2 separate regions of the Homo sapiens genome follow, and region 1 is linked to region 2. Evidence: promoter capture Hi-C in 16 types of primary human blood cells and fetal thymus (Javierre and others, 2016). All regions are on one chromosome and are shown on one strand. The core of a region is centred on a gene start or on the middle of the fragment in contact, and the rest is flanking DNA. Distances in the headings are between cores, read along the strand shown. Region 1 overlaps ARHGAP15 (Rho GTPase activating protein 15). Region 2 holds the start of KYNU (kynureninase).

Region 1 (5,673 bases), core at 1,066-3,565, 380 kb before region 2:
AAAAAAAATTAGCCGGGTGTGGTGGTGGGTTCCTGTAATACCAGCTACTCAGGAGACTGAGGCAGGAGAATTGCTTGAACTCAGGAGACGGAGGTTGCAGTGAACCAACACGGTGCCACTGTACTCCACTCAAGCCTGGGTGACAGAGTGAGACTCCGTCTCAAAAAAAAAAAAAAAAAAAAAAAAAAGGTCATTCCTCCAAGATACAGCTGTCACTGTCATAAAATTTAGCATAAACAAATACACCATCAAATGCCCCACTATAAAATGTAACATCCAGCAATTACATAGTAAAGGATTTAAGGTGACATCATTCATTACAGTATATGAATGATCCTCCTGACTAAATGGGAATTTAGTGTTAAGTAGCTGTAAAAGCTGCCAAAGAGCAAATGTTATTGAAACAAACATTAGCAACTTATGACTAAAACCTAGGGCATCCTGACCATAGCTACAAGGTTTACTATCTCTATTATGGAGCCATTAGAAACCACCACAGGGTTGTATCCAAGTCTATTAGGAGAATAATTTAGTTGAAATTTTATACTTACAGATGAAAGAGACAGGGATATAATCATTATCGATTTTACTTTCTTTGCAAGGTTTTATTGTTGTTGTTGTTCATATCCTTCCTAAATGTGAGTAGAATGGAGAACAGAGGAAGGATGGGGAATCGAGCCATCTTCCTAGAGAAGATGAGCAACATTCTTCCATAAGCCAAATTACATATTTTGAAGAAGGAATTATTTTTAGTGGTAGAAATAGCTAGTAACAAAGGGAATATCAAGTATGTATTCACAGATTGAAAATCTTACCCACAAATTTAAAAATAAAACCCAAAAGTCTTACTTTCAATATAGGCATTTCCACATTTTCTTGTAAAGGATAATATTAATTCAGTATATAATTCTCCAGATTTAGTGTAATGGTTCTTTGTTATCTGACTTTTACTAAATCAGAAGGCAGTTTAATGATACAGGGAAATATTCACTAGAAACTGAATATTAACTATTAAATATCATCCCTGAGAATTCAGAAGAAAACTTCAGCTTTCCTCCTGGGGCAATTTTAACTCATTATCTCCTATAATCTTCAAAGACTTGTGATCTATATAAATAGCCATTTAAAGGGTCAAGGTTTTCATTACATACCAAGGAGACTTTCTACGATTATTGGAAACTTAAAACCGTACTAAAATTACAGAGATATCCTAATTCTAATTGGTTCTTGTTAAGAATGAGTTAATACACTGATGCTTGAGAATCATCAAAATTTCTTAAATTTTAACTATTTTATTTTCAACAAAAAGTGCGATGTGAACTGAATAATATTTGTCATTTAACTTGAAAATTCATGAAGAAGGATTACGAGTTTCTGAGTCATTAACAATCCTCCCATTTTAATATAACAATTGAATAAATGGGAAGAAATTTATGAACCTCTGTACATTTTCTTTTTTGACATTCTAAATTATATTATTTCTAAAGTCAAATTCAGTGACTGATAACTTAAAAAAATTCATGCTTAGATCCAAATGAGGGATTAAAGCATCTCATGTATATTCTTATTTAAGCAAAATAGCATATCTTTAGATTCAATAAACCTTCTTAATATTTGGGTATATACTTATTTATTTGCCAACAGAAATGAATGTCGATAAAATTCATCAGTCAACAACAGCCAAGAGTAACTTCTTTAGATAAGCCATGTAAAATACACTTTCACATTCAGGACAAAAGATATCCAAGTATCTCATTTCCTCTCCCTGAATCCTCCATTCCACGACAAGACAGGGAGAAAGGACTGCCATCAGATGAATGACATGTAGGGCCAGAGGATGTCCACATTTATATTTTACCACTTAAAGCTCTTCTTTAAATACCTCCCGAGAGCACCCAGTCAAACCGAATCAGAGAAGCCAGTGTTGAAATGCCAAGTAGCCACCAGATGGCAGCAATGCTTTTATGAATAATGCAGCATTCTTTGCAGTCCATCTAAGATTTCCTATGTTAATAATAGAACAATCCTTACTTTAGTAAAAGGACAAATTTGCTCGTAATGAAGCCAGCATTTTTTTCCATATTGCTAGTTACATTTTGTGGGGTTCAATTGTTTTCTAGTATTTGCCCCCTCCAAATATTTATTTTCATATGCATTAAACATTAAATTGAGGTTGAATTTCATATTGATACTGTAGTAGAAAATGCCTGAAGCTTGAAACAAATATTTTCTTTTCTGATGGACAAATAACATCTGTGGTTGTAAATGTTCCAGTATAGCTGTCAAAAGAGAAGGGTTTCACATAATTTTCTGCCACCCCTATCAGTACATCCTACACATCAAAAGAGTATGTTCGTAACCTCCCTTTCCATGAATTGATTTCAAATCTATCGCAGATCTCAAATATCAGAAGCTTGCCTTTTACTTGATCAAGGGCATGGGAATTTTGAAAATGAAGCATTGCTTAAAATTCAACTTCAAGAAAAAAAAAAAGACCACAATCAAGGTCTTTCTAAGTTACTTGGGAAAGGAATCCTCATTATTGGTATTTCCGTTTTCAAGGTGCTTCAGCAATTTGTTAATTTTGCCACTGTAATTTTTTTAGTTTACACTTGTTCACCCAGAAAGTGAGACTGTTAGAATTTCTCCCAGTGCCGGAAATGCAATGTTAGGTAAATTGATGAGGCTGAGGTCAAGAATCTAATAGCTCTCTACTAAAAAGAAATGCATCTAAACCCTCCATGTGAACACCTCTCCCTTGGTTAAGCCATCTCATACCCATCAGTGTTATCTGAAAAGAGTTCAAACAGCTTCCTTCCTGATTTCTCCCCAACATCAACCATTTCATTTCATTGTTTCACTTAGGCCACCTCTCAACATCCTGTTTTGTTAAGATAAAAGAGCAGCCTCCTCCCCTCTTCAAATACCAAGAATCCTTAACTGCCCTGCAGTGTTTTATATCCTTTTGAATTTTTTTTCTGCTAAATGTTTAGTAGTATGTTTAACTCTTACATTGAGAGACTCTATGCATAGATGCCATAAGTGGCCTTTCCAGTTATGCATAAGTGTGGGCATTTTCCTTTCATCTTGAACTTATTTTTCTGTGCATTTCAAGCCTTTGTTTATGGATGCTTGCTTTGTTATTTTCTTATATTGCTTTAAACATTGCTCTGAGGTTTCAGCTTTGCTCACCGCTGCCCAGATTTTCCTCCTGCTCAGTGGCTTGTGGCATATAAACACTGAATACATATATATATATATGTATTTTTTCTCTTGCTTTCAGATCCAGCTTCATTACCTTATGTTTCTAAAAACTGAATAGCGTCATCTATTTATCAGCCAGTGATCCTATGCTATCCAAAAGCACTCAATTTTATTTCATCCTGTGTCATCCTTATGGACAAGCTGTAAAATGTGATACCATTTACTGGCCCCATCTATTATGTACCAGCTTTAGGGATTAAATTGTTCCTTTTTCTGGAATAGGTCTGTTTGCTATTAAAAATCATACACAGCATGAAATACACATGGCTGCTCTCTTTAAAAATAAAAGATATTGAAACAGATATGAAAAAGGATCCCTTGGCTTGAATATTGTCTTGCTAGCATCAATATATTTTCTATACTTTATAAATGAGATTAAAATAACAAGTAGAAAAACCATACACTTGTTGATTCTACCTTACTCCATAAAATTCCCCAGTGGCAGTGGTTTCTTTTGCCCAGGTTGGAGTGCATCGTGTCAAGTCTCAGGTTTGATCTCCATGTGGCTCAGTTAGTCTCATTCTGCTTATGGGAAAACAGAGAAAGTGCGTTGCAAGCCACAGGAGCCCATGGATGGCATAGAGACTACCACACTAGCTCTACCAAATCATCAAGAAACAGAATATGTTCCATGAGAGGAAGGGATTCACAATATGATGTCGGTAAATGAAGAACAGCATGGTGCATTTAGCCTGGTGTCAGACTAAAACCCAGAATTTATTCCAACTGCACAACTCATATCTTTGAGCTCACATAGCCAGCTATTCCAGAAGGCAATGTGAAGTGAGCTATCCAGTTGTCTAAGTTCATTAGATGACGTGCATCCATTCTTCTGCTGAAATGTTAGAAACAGAAGAAGCCAAGTTGACTTTTTTCTTTTGTTTTATGTTATTTTGGAATTACAAAATTTTGGTTCCCTTCACTAATTGGGGACCAAAATGTACTAATACTACTATTTTCAATCTTTACTGTCATCCGGTTGCATGCTGCTTTGATAGTTCAAAAAGAATGAATCTAGTAAGGCAGCATTATGCCCTCTAGTAATGAAACAATGAAGGTGTGCAAATGAGCATACATCCTTGATGTCTAAGGCTTTGACTAGTGAGTTTCACGGGATCACCCAGGCAACATAAAGTTCGTGTTGTTTTCCCTAACGATACACTTAGTTTATAAATCTTAATTCTAGATGTCTAGAATATATTTTTTAAAAAAGTTTTATTATTTCTTAGAAAATTAAACGTGCAAAAAGACAGTGGTTCCCAAGTCACATTATCTGAACCAATAGGCATGTTCTTCATTTGCAGAATGTACTTTCCATCCATCTTCTTGTTTCTGTTTCTCCTTTCATCAGTCAAAGCTAACATGCTCTCTTGATCTCATCTAGATTCTTACAATCAATTTTATTTCCTGTCCCCAGATTCTATCATTTGCACTCAATCTTTATATACCCCTGACATTCATATTCTTAAATCAAATCTCTAATTATAAAATTTTATGCCTCCCTCTGTGCAAAATCTGTGTGACCGCATCAACAAAAGTGAAGCTAAACATCATACAAATAATCATATCTCTTTCCCTTCAATCAGAAAAACAGTATTGTACTGATACCTCAGTAGGGGAGTAATAAGTGTCACTATTGTCCCTCTTTCACTTGGGGCATAGTTGCTACACTTGTTTCTATGTTACCTTTTGCAAGTTTCTATTAACAGCTTGGTAGGGCTTTCAAGGTGATATGCTTTTAAGTATTAATTTGAATATGTCATTGATTAATTAATTGGATATTACATTAATGCCACTAAGAATAGCACATTAAAAATAAGATTAAGGATCTATATTCTTAGTCACACAATAAAAAGATTTTCATGTTGTGTATTAAATATCAGTCTATTAAGTTCAGAAGGCAACAGAAAGACCAGAAGTAGAGCAGAAATTTTGAGTTACATTTCACAGATATTTACCTCTCTCAACCCTATTCTTCTAAAATTCATATCTGGAATTTCCCTCAAAACATTGTGAGATGATGTGGTTAGTAGATGAATAATGAAAGTCTGCTGTATTTGTATTAAAATCACTTCTTTGTAGTTGCTCTCAAACAAACATACAGGATTGCTTCATTTTAGTATTAACACAGATGGGCAGGTGAGGTGAGGACTGTCATCTCTTATTTCCTTGGTGTGACAAAGTTGGAGGAGGATCCTGCTGTGAGTTCTGCATAAAGTTACAACTGACATAGCCCAAATTGGAACACACATCCCCAGACCCATGTGTTCTCTCCACTGCACCTCCTGAATGTTGGATGAATATCTAATAGGTAGATGAAATGATTGGGGACAAGCTGTAGGGCAAAAAACAACTGTGTTAGACGTGAATGTTTCTCTTACTCTGGTCTATTTTTAATGCCGTGTCTTT
Region 2 (5,673 bases), core at 1,659-4,158:
AGAAGCTATGAAATGCTAGGGTCTAGGAGGAATACTGTCATAGAATGACTCATTTTTCAAAGTAAAACAGAACCACTGATTGTTAAAGCATGAAAAGCATGAAGTGATTCCAGCAGCAAGTAAGAGTCACTTAGTTACACAATGGCAAGGGATTGAACAGCTATGTCTCCTGAAAAGGTGACAAGACAAGCCCATCTTGCAAGTCACTGAATCCTTCATGCAACATGCTATGTGCAAGTCTCCAGGGGACCCATCTTCTTGGCTATTCCTAAAATTCCATGAGATGTTTTTCTGCCTTACTATCAGATTAGTCTTACTACAAACATATTACTGATGGTAGCTGGACTGAGTTGCTGTTCTACCCTACTGAACTGAACTCTACCTGGGGGCCTGAATCATGTTTAATTTATCTTTATAGACATCTCATTTAGACAGAGTACCCCTGCCGCCAAAGTGGCAGTTCGAGAGAATAAACAAAATTGGTTGATGAATTATTTGACATAATGACATATTACTAGAAGGGCACCCTCTCTCATTCTGACCATATGAGAAAGACTTAGACAAACATTTCTAATGAAATTCAGAATCAAGAGAGCTTGCCTTATATTTGAGACTTTCTTTGGGAGGTCAGCCCTTTGAGTTGATTGGAGGTGACTTTAAACTCTAAGTGGGGTTACTTAAATAAAGAGATTAGTTTGTTACCAACAGATTCTGAATAAAATTCAACTTTCCTTATTTTAAAAATGATACTCATTAGCGTCATTCTATCTGTATCTTATTTAATGCTTGTAATAATCCTGAGGCATCAGAATCCTTTTCCTCTATATTGAGATGAAAACCTGGCACAGACAGAGTAGAAACCAGTGGACTAAAAGGATAGCAGAGTGCACAGTAGGGTACTTAACCATGCCTGAGATGCTGAGTCCATTGTGCTGGTCTTTGGCAAAGCCCATGAATGGAATGCACAGAGCTCAATTCCTCCTCGAAGCCTTGAACCTCTCACTTTATTTTTCCTTGCCTGTTGCTTCCTGATGTGTGTGTGTACGTGTGTGTATTTCTTCAGCTCATTCCCTTTTTCTTTGGCTTCTTTTTTCAGTCCTACACTTAAGCTGCAAAGGACCACAAGCTACGTATGAATTGATTTACCTTTTTAATCCATCCTTCCCAGTCCAGTTTCAGCCAGGCAAAAGTTAAAGTGGCTGGTTCCGCTCCTGGGCCTGTCACATCTGGGGTACCTTGAGATACCTGATGGGCATAGTCTTCCAAATGACTGCACCCTGCCCTACTCCACCACTTGCACAACTTCGCATGGTCTCAAATATAGTCTTTAGTTCCCAGAATAGCATAGTGCACTCACTCTAAGGATGCAATTTATTCACTCATACTAATTGCTGCTTAATTCTGCATTCACCCCAGCAGCTAAGACAATTAGTGTTCACAAGCCATAATGTTATGCCATGTTTAGTTTGCAAATAAAGTGACATGCTCATATTCTGAAAGGAAGAACTTAAATCCAAACTTTTAAAAACTTCAACTTTTACATATTTTACAAATTTTCAAATGTTACATATTTAGTGTTAATTTTATCAAGACGGGGGACATACATACCATATGGTCTCAGACAAATCACCTAACTGCTCTGTATGTCAATGTTATTTAAAGTTAAATTTTACTTTCTTCAAAGGATTATGGTTAAGCTCAAATGACATTAGGTCCTTTATAAAAAGATAAAAGATAGTTTGTAATATTTTTTTAAATTATCAATACCTTCTGATGGACAGCATCAATGTGCCTTCGATTTAGGTTTGGAAATTGTGCTTTCACAATTTTATTTAGACAGCTACAACTTTAAAGTAAAAAGCTTGTATAATAATTAAAAACTGATTGATTTTAACGAAATCACAGAATTCAGAATCTCCTAGTCACCCACTGATTTAGGGCTAAATAGTTAAATAAATGACTGAGTGTCTGGTAGTTAATCTTTACACAGTTTCACATTCATGCCTGAAATAAGCAAATTGTACATAGGAGTTCAAAGTTTAGAACCTGACTTAAAAATATGTTGAGAAAGCGTGTAGTTTTTCATTAGTAAAGAAAAAAGGAAAAACAATATGCATATTGAGCAAGATTCTTTAAGCATATCATTGAGAAATGGGTAACATTACTCTGCTACGAGTGTATATTTCATATCTAGGATATGAATTACTTGCTGAACACGTTAAGAAAATCAATACATTTGCTTCAGTGTTACTACTAAATAACACCCCACTGGCCTCAAAATAAAAGCAGAAAGGAAAAAAGAAAATCTAGTATATTTTTAAAAAGTGTATCAACTTTCTTTTCTTAGGTTTCATAAAATGAAAGGGGAAGAAACTCTGTTCAAGAGTAGGCATTTTCACTTCTCTAAATAAATATTTAATATGACTACTAGCAGCATAAGACAATTAAAGTTACCAGAAAACAGAGGACTTAAAATCTGTTTAAGAATATCTTTCCCTCGTCTGGAGTTTGACCTAATCTTACCGCTTAAACTCAAATAAGAACAGGACTAACTTTGGTTTGTCAAATGTAACCATATTCAGTGCACTATGTTCATCAGTTCTTTTCTATTACATTAGTAAAGATCTTTTCATTTAACCCATTTCTAAAGGTGGGGCCTTTAGGAAGGTCATACCATTTTTATTTACAAAAAGAATATATATAAAAAAAGAAGAGAGTAGCAGAAAAAAACCTCTAAAACACTATGACAAGGATTCTAGCTGACAGAAGTTTCATTTGGAAAAAACATGGAGTAAACATTAGGGTAGAGAGTTTTTATCAGCGCCTCAAGCTTACCAGCTAGGATCCCAATGGAGTGTTTGGCTCCCAGAATCTCTCCAAGAACCTCTCAAGAATTCCTTGAAAATGTACAGGCCAGATCTTAGGGTGAGAAATTCAAAGAACTGCTCAGACTCCACCCAGTGGAGAATTTATAAATATTTTACTTTACTTCCTCTCCCCTAACCAATCGGTAATCTCCAGCCACTGTCAGAAATTTAAGCAACATGTGCTCCTGCCCACCATTTCAAATGCCAGAGCCTCCAGTGAGGGCTTCTTTCCAGAGGCAACTTTGCTCTTTAAACTCAGGTAAACACACACTTGTCCTTTAACTATATAAATCTCTGACCCCTGAACTGATGAGTTGGTCTTAGAGCTAAATTCCAAATTTTGCCTTTCTTCTTCACTTTGAGCTCTGGATTTTTGAGACAATACCCTCCTTCAAATACACTGAGGATTTTCAGTCTGATGGTTGAATCTATGACATTTAATGGGTAAACTTTTTAGTCAAAAGTTTAAAATAGGCTCTCAATTCCAGAATACACTCTATTGCCTAATATGTGAGTTTTCAAAAACTCCTAGGTAATAAATCTGGACAGTTAACAAGACAATGAAGGAAGAAAGATCTGAAGATTCAAGTGGAAACTAGCCTGGCAAACTTCATTAATGCAAATTATTCATTTAAGTCTGTGAATTGTCTTTTGTTCTAGTCTGACTACCTCTTTAGGCTTATTCCTGAGCTTGGGTCTTTTGATGAATATCCTTGTAGTTATAAAAACTAAGAGCAAAGACTTTCGATATTAGGACTAGGGATGAAGAATGTGCTTGAATAATTGAATGACTTATGCACACCTATGCTTTATTTAGTAACCCACAACAAATCAAGTAAAGTGTCATTTAATCATTTCTATCAAGTGTTCATTGTATAACCCTGAGCAATTCACTTAACCCTTGTGGAGGCTCAGTCTCCTATTTATCAAATGAACTTAATAATACCTTCCTCCCAAGATTACTGAAACGATAAAACCATGCAGGTTGAAGGCCATAGATACCATGACACTCAAGTCAAAAGTGACATATTGTCTTTTTTTTAATCTTAAGTAACCAGACAAAAAGTACTACTCTCCAGTTTCCAAGAGAGGGAGATAAAGTGCATGAAATTGCTTTAATACGAGTAATTGACCAGTGAAAATAAAATATATTTCACTTCATTGATCCTATCCTTACAATAATCCTATAAAGTAAGTAGACTACCAATTGATTAACTTAGAATAGTAAAAGTTTGAATCCATTCAGGAAATTTCAGAAGGTGTACTTTTTTTGCATCTATTCTGTGTATGCCTCATGCTGTAAAAACTTTGGAAGATTACCAGGCTCTAATATATGGGGAGCGAACCAGAGGGCGGATCTGTGTCATTTTTGTGTCACTCTTTTAAAGACTGACTATAGATTTAGAGAGCTAGATATGGACATTAAGGTTTTGTTTTCACAAGATCTTGCTTCTTCTAAAATCTTGTAATAATATGATTAAAAATTTCATCAAAATATTATCTTAAAAACTACTGTTTAACTTGTCACCTTTAAAGAACTTGCTTGGAGGTCTAAGCTATACTTCTATTTCTTATGTTTTATAAATTTCTTTCTTTCTTTAAATTTGTTACATTTGAGGAATAAAAATAAAATCCCAAGCCCCTAGATTAACTGAACGGACACGCTCTTGGCCAAGGGGATCCCAGAGTAAACTTGAAAACTAAGTTTTTGGCCATGACAGGATAGGAAGTGGAACACATACCCGCTCCATCACTAACTATGATTAGGCTTTCTGCCCTATGGCTAAAAAGAAACCAGTCATTTCAAAAGATTACACCAATGACATCAACCATCACCTGGTGTTATCCCTCTCTTTTGTGGTTTGGAACAAAAAGAAAATACTGATCATGGAATGTTTCTGGCTAGTCTATGGAGAATGTGCAGTAAAGGTTTTCATGTCCTCTGCTTCACATTGGGCTGAAAACTGCCCCCTCAGATTGTATTAATGCTGTCATTTTTTGAACACGGATCCCATGGAGAAGCATGAAACTCCATTGTGCATGTGCACATTTCTCCTTTCACAAATATTCATGGCTTCCCCTATAGCTTATTGAATATATATATTCAGCTACCCTGCTCAACATAAATTTCTGTTTCCTTTGCTCCTCCCTCAAAATGTCTGTTTCCAGCTTCTGATTAGAGGCTATACTTTTCAGAGGTCAGAATGATCACCCTGCAGGCTGCAATCCTTTATGTGAAATGAAGCTCTCCTTTCCAAATGTATGAACCTGTCATTCTTCAGTTGACACTTTCATTCATTCAAGAAAAGTATTAAGCATATTCTCTGTACCAAGCACAAAGTGAAATGCCAGGGATGTAATGGGGAGCAAAACTTGTATAATAACATAGGCCGCTAAATACAGAAGGGAATTATGAGAGAACGAGTCATGCGGGGAGGGGTGAAAGCAAGACCCGCTACAGGGCCAGCAGTCAAGGTTAAACAGAGAACACTGTGAGATACCATTCCTTCCTTTTGGAAACAGGAAGAAAAAAAGTGTTGCCAGAATAAGCTGTTGTACAATTCCGAGTTGTCTATTAATTTCCAGGTATGGCATCCTGCTTATAAAATGATATGTTTCCGAGAGGAAAAGACTAATTTTATCCTCCTCAGAGCTCTACCTATGTATGGAGCTAAATAAATATCTACTGAATTGGTTAATTTGTTTTTTTTTAATTAAGATCTAGTTTATTTTCTAAAAATTGATTATTGGAAATATGGGAAAGTTTTGTCCTCTCAAAAGGTAATCTTGAACCATGAACTTTATT

Evidence for each region. The method cuts DNA at HindIII sites, captures the fragments that hold promoters and counts their contacts. A CHiCAGO score of 5 or more calls a contact.
Region 1: a fragment that was not itself captured here is called in contact with the fragment with the promoter of KYNU in region 2 in 1 of 17 cell types (monocytes); the score reaches 5.7 in monocytes.

Annotation. Positions count from the first base shown.
Region 1 is chr2:143,255,841-143,261,513 of GRCh38, reverse strand. The region is part of intron 6 of ARHGAP15 (Rho GTPase activating protein 15); the gene reads right to left. Among named protein-coding and RNA genes, the nearest start is that of ARHGAP15, 130 kb to the right of the region's middle. The HindIII fragment of the contact is 200 bases long and covers 2,216-2,415 here.
Region 2 is chr2:142,874,899-142,880,571 of GRCh38, reverse strand. It overlaps KYNU (kynureninase), which reads right to left and starts at 2,908. Exons shown (of 14, transcript NM_003937.3): 1 at 2,836-2,908. The HindIII fragment of the contact is 4,288 bases long and covers 2,833-5,673 here.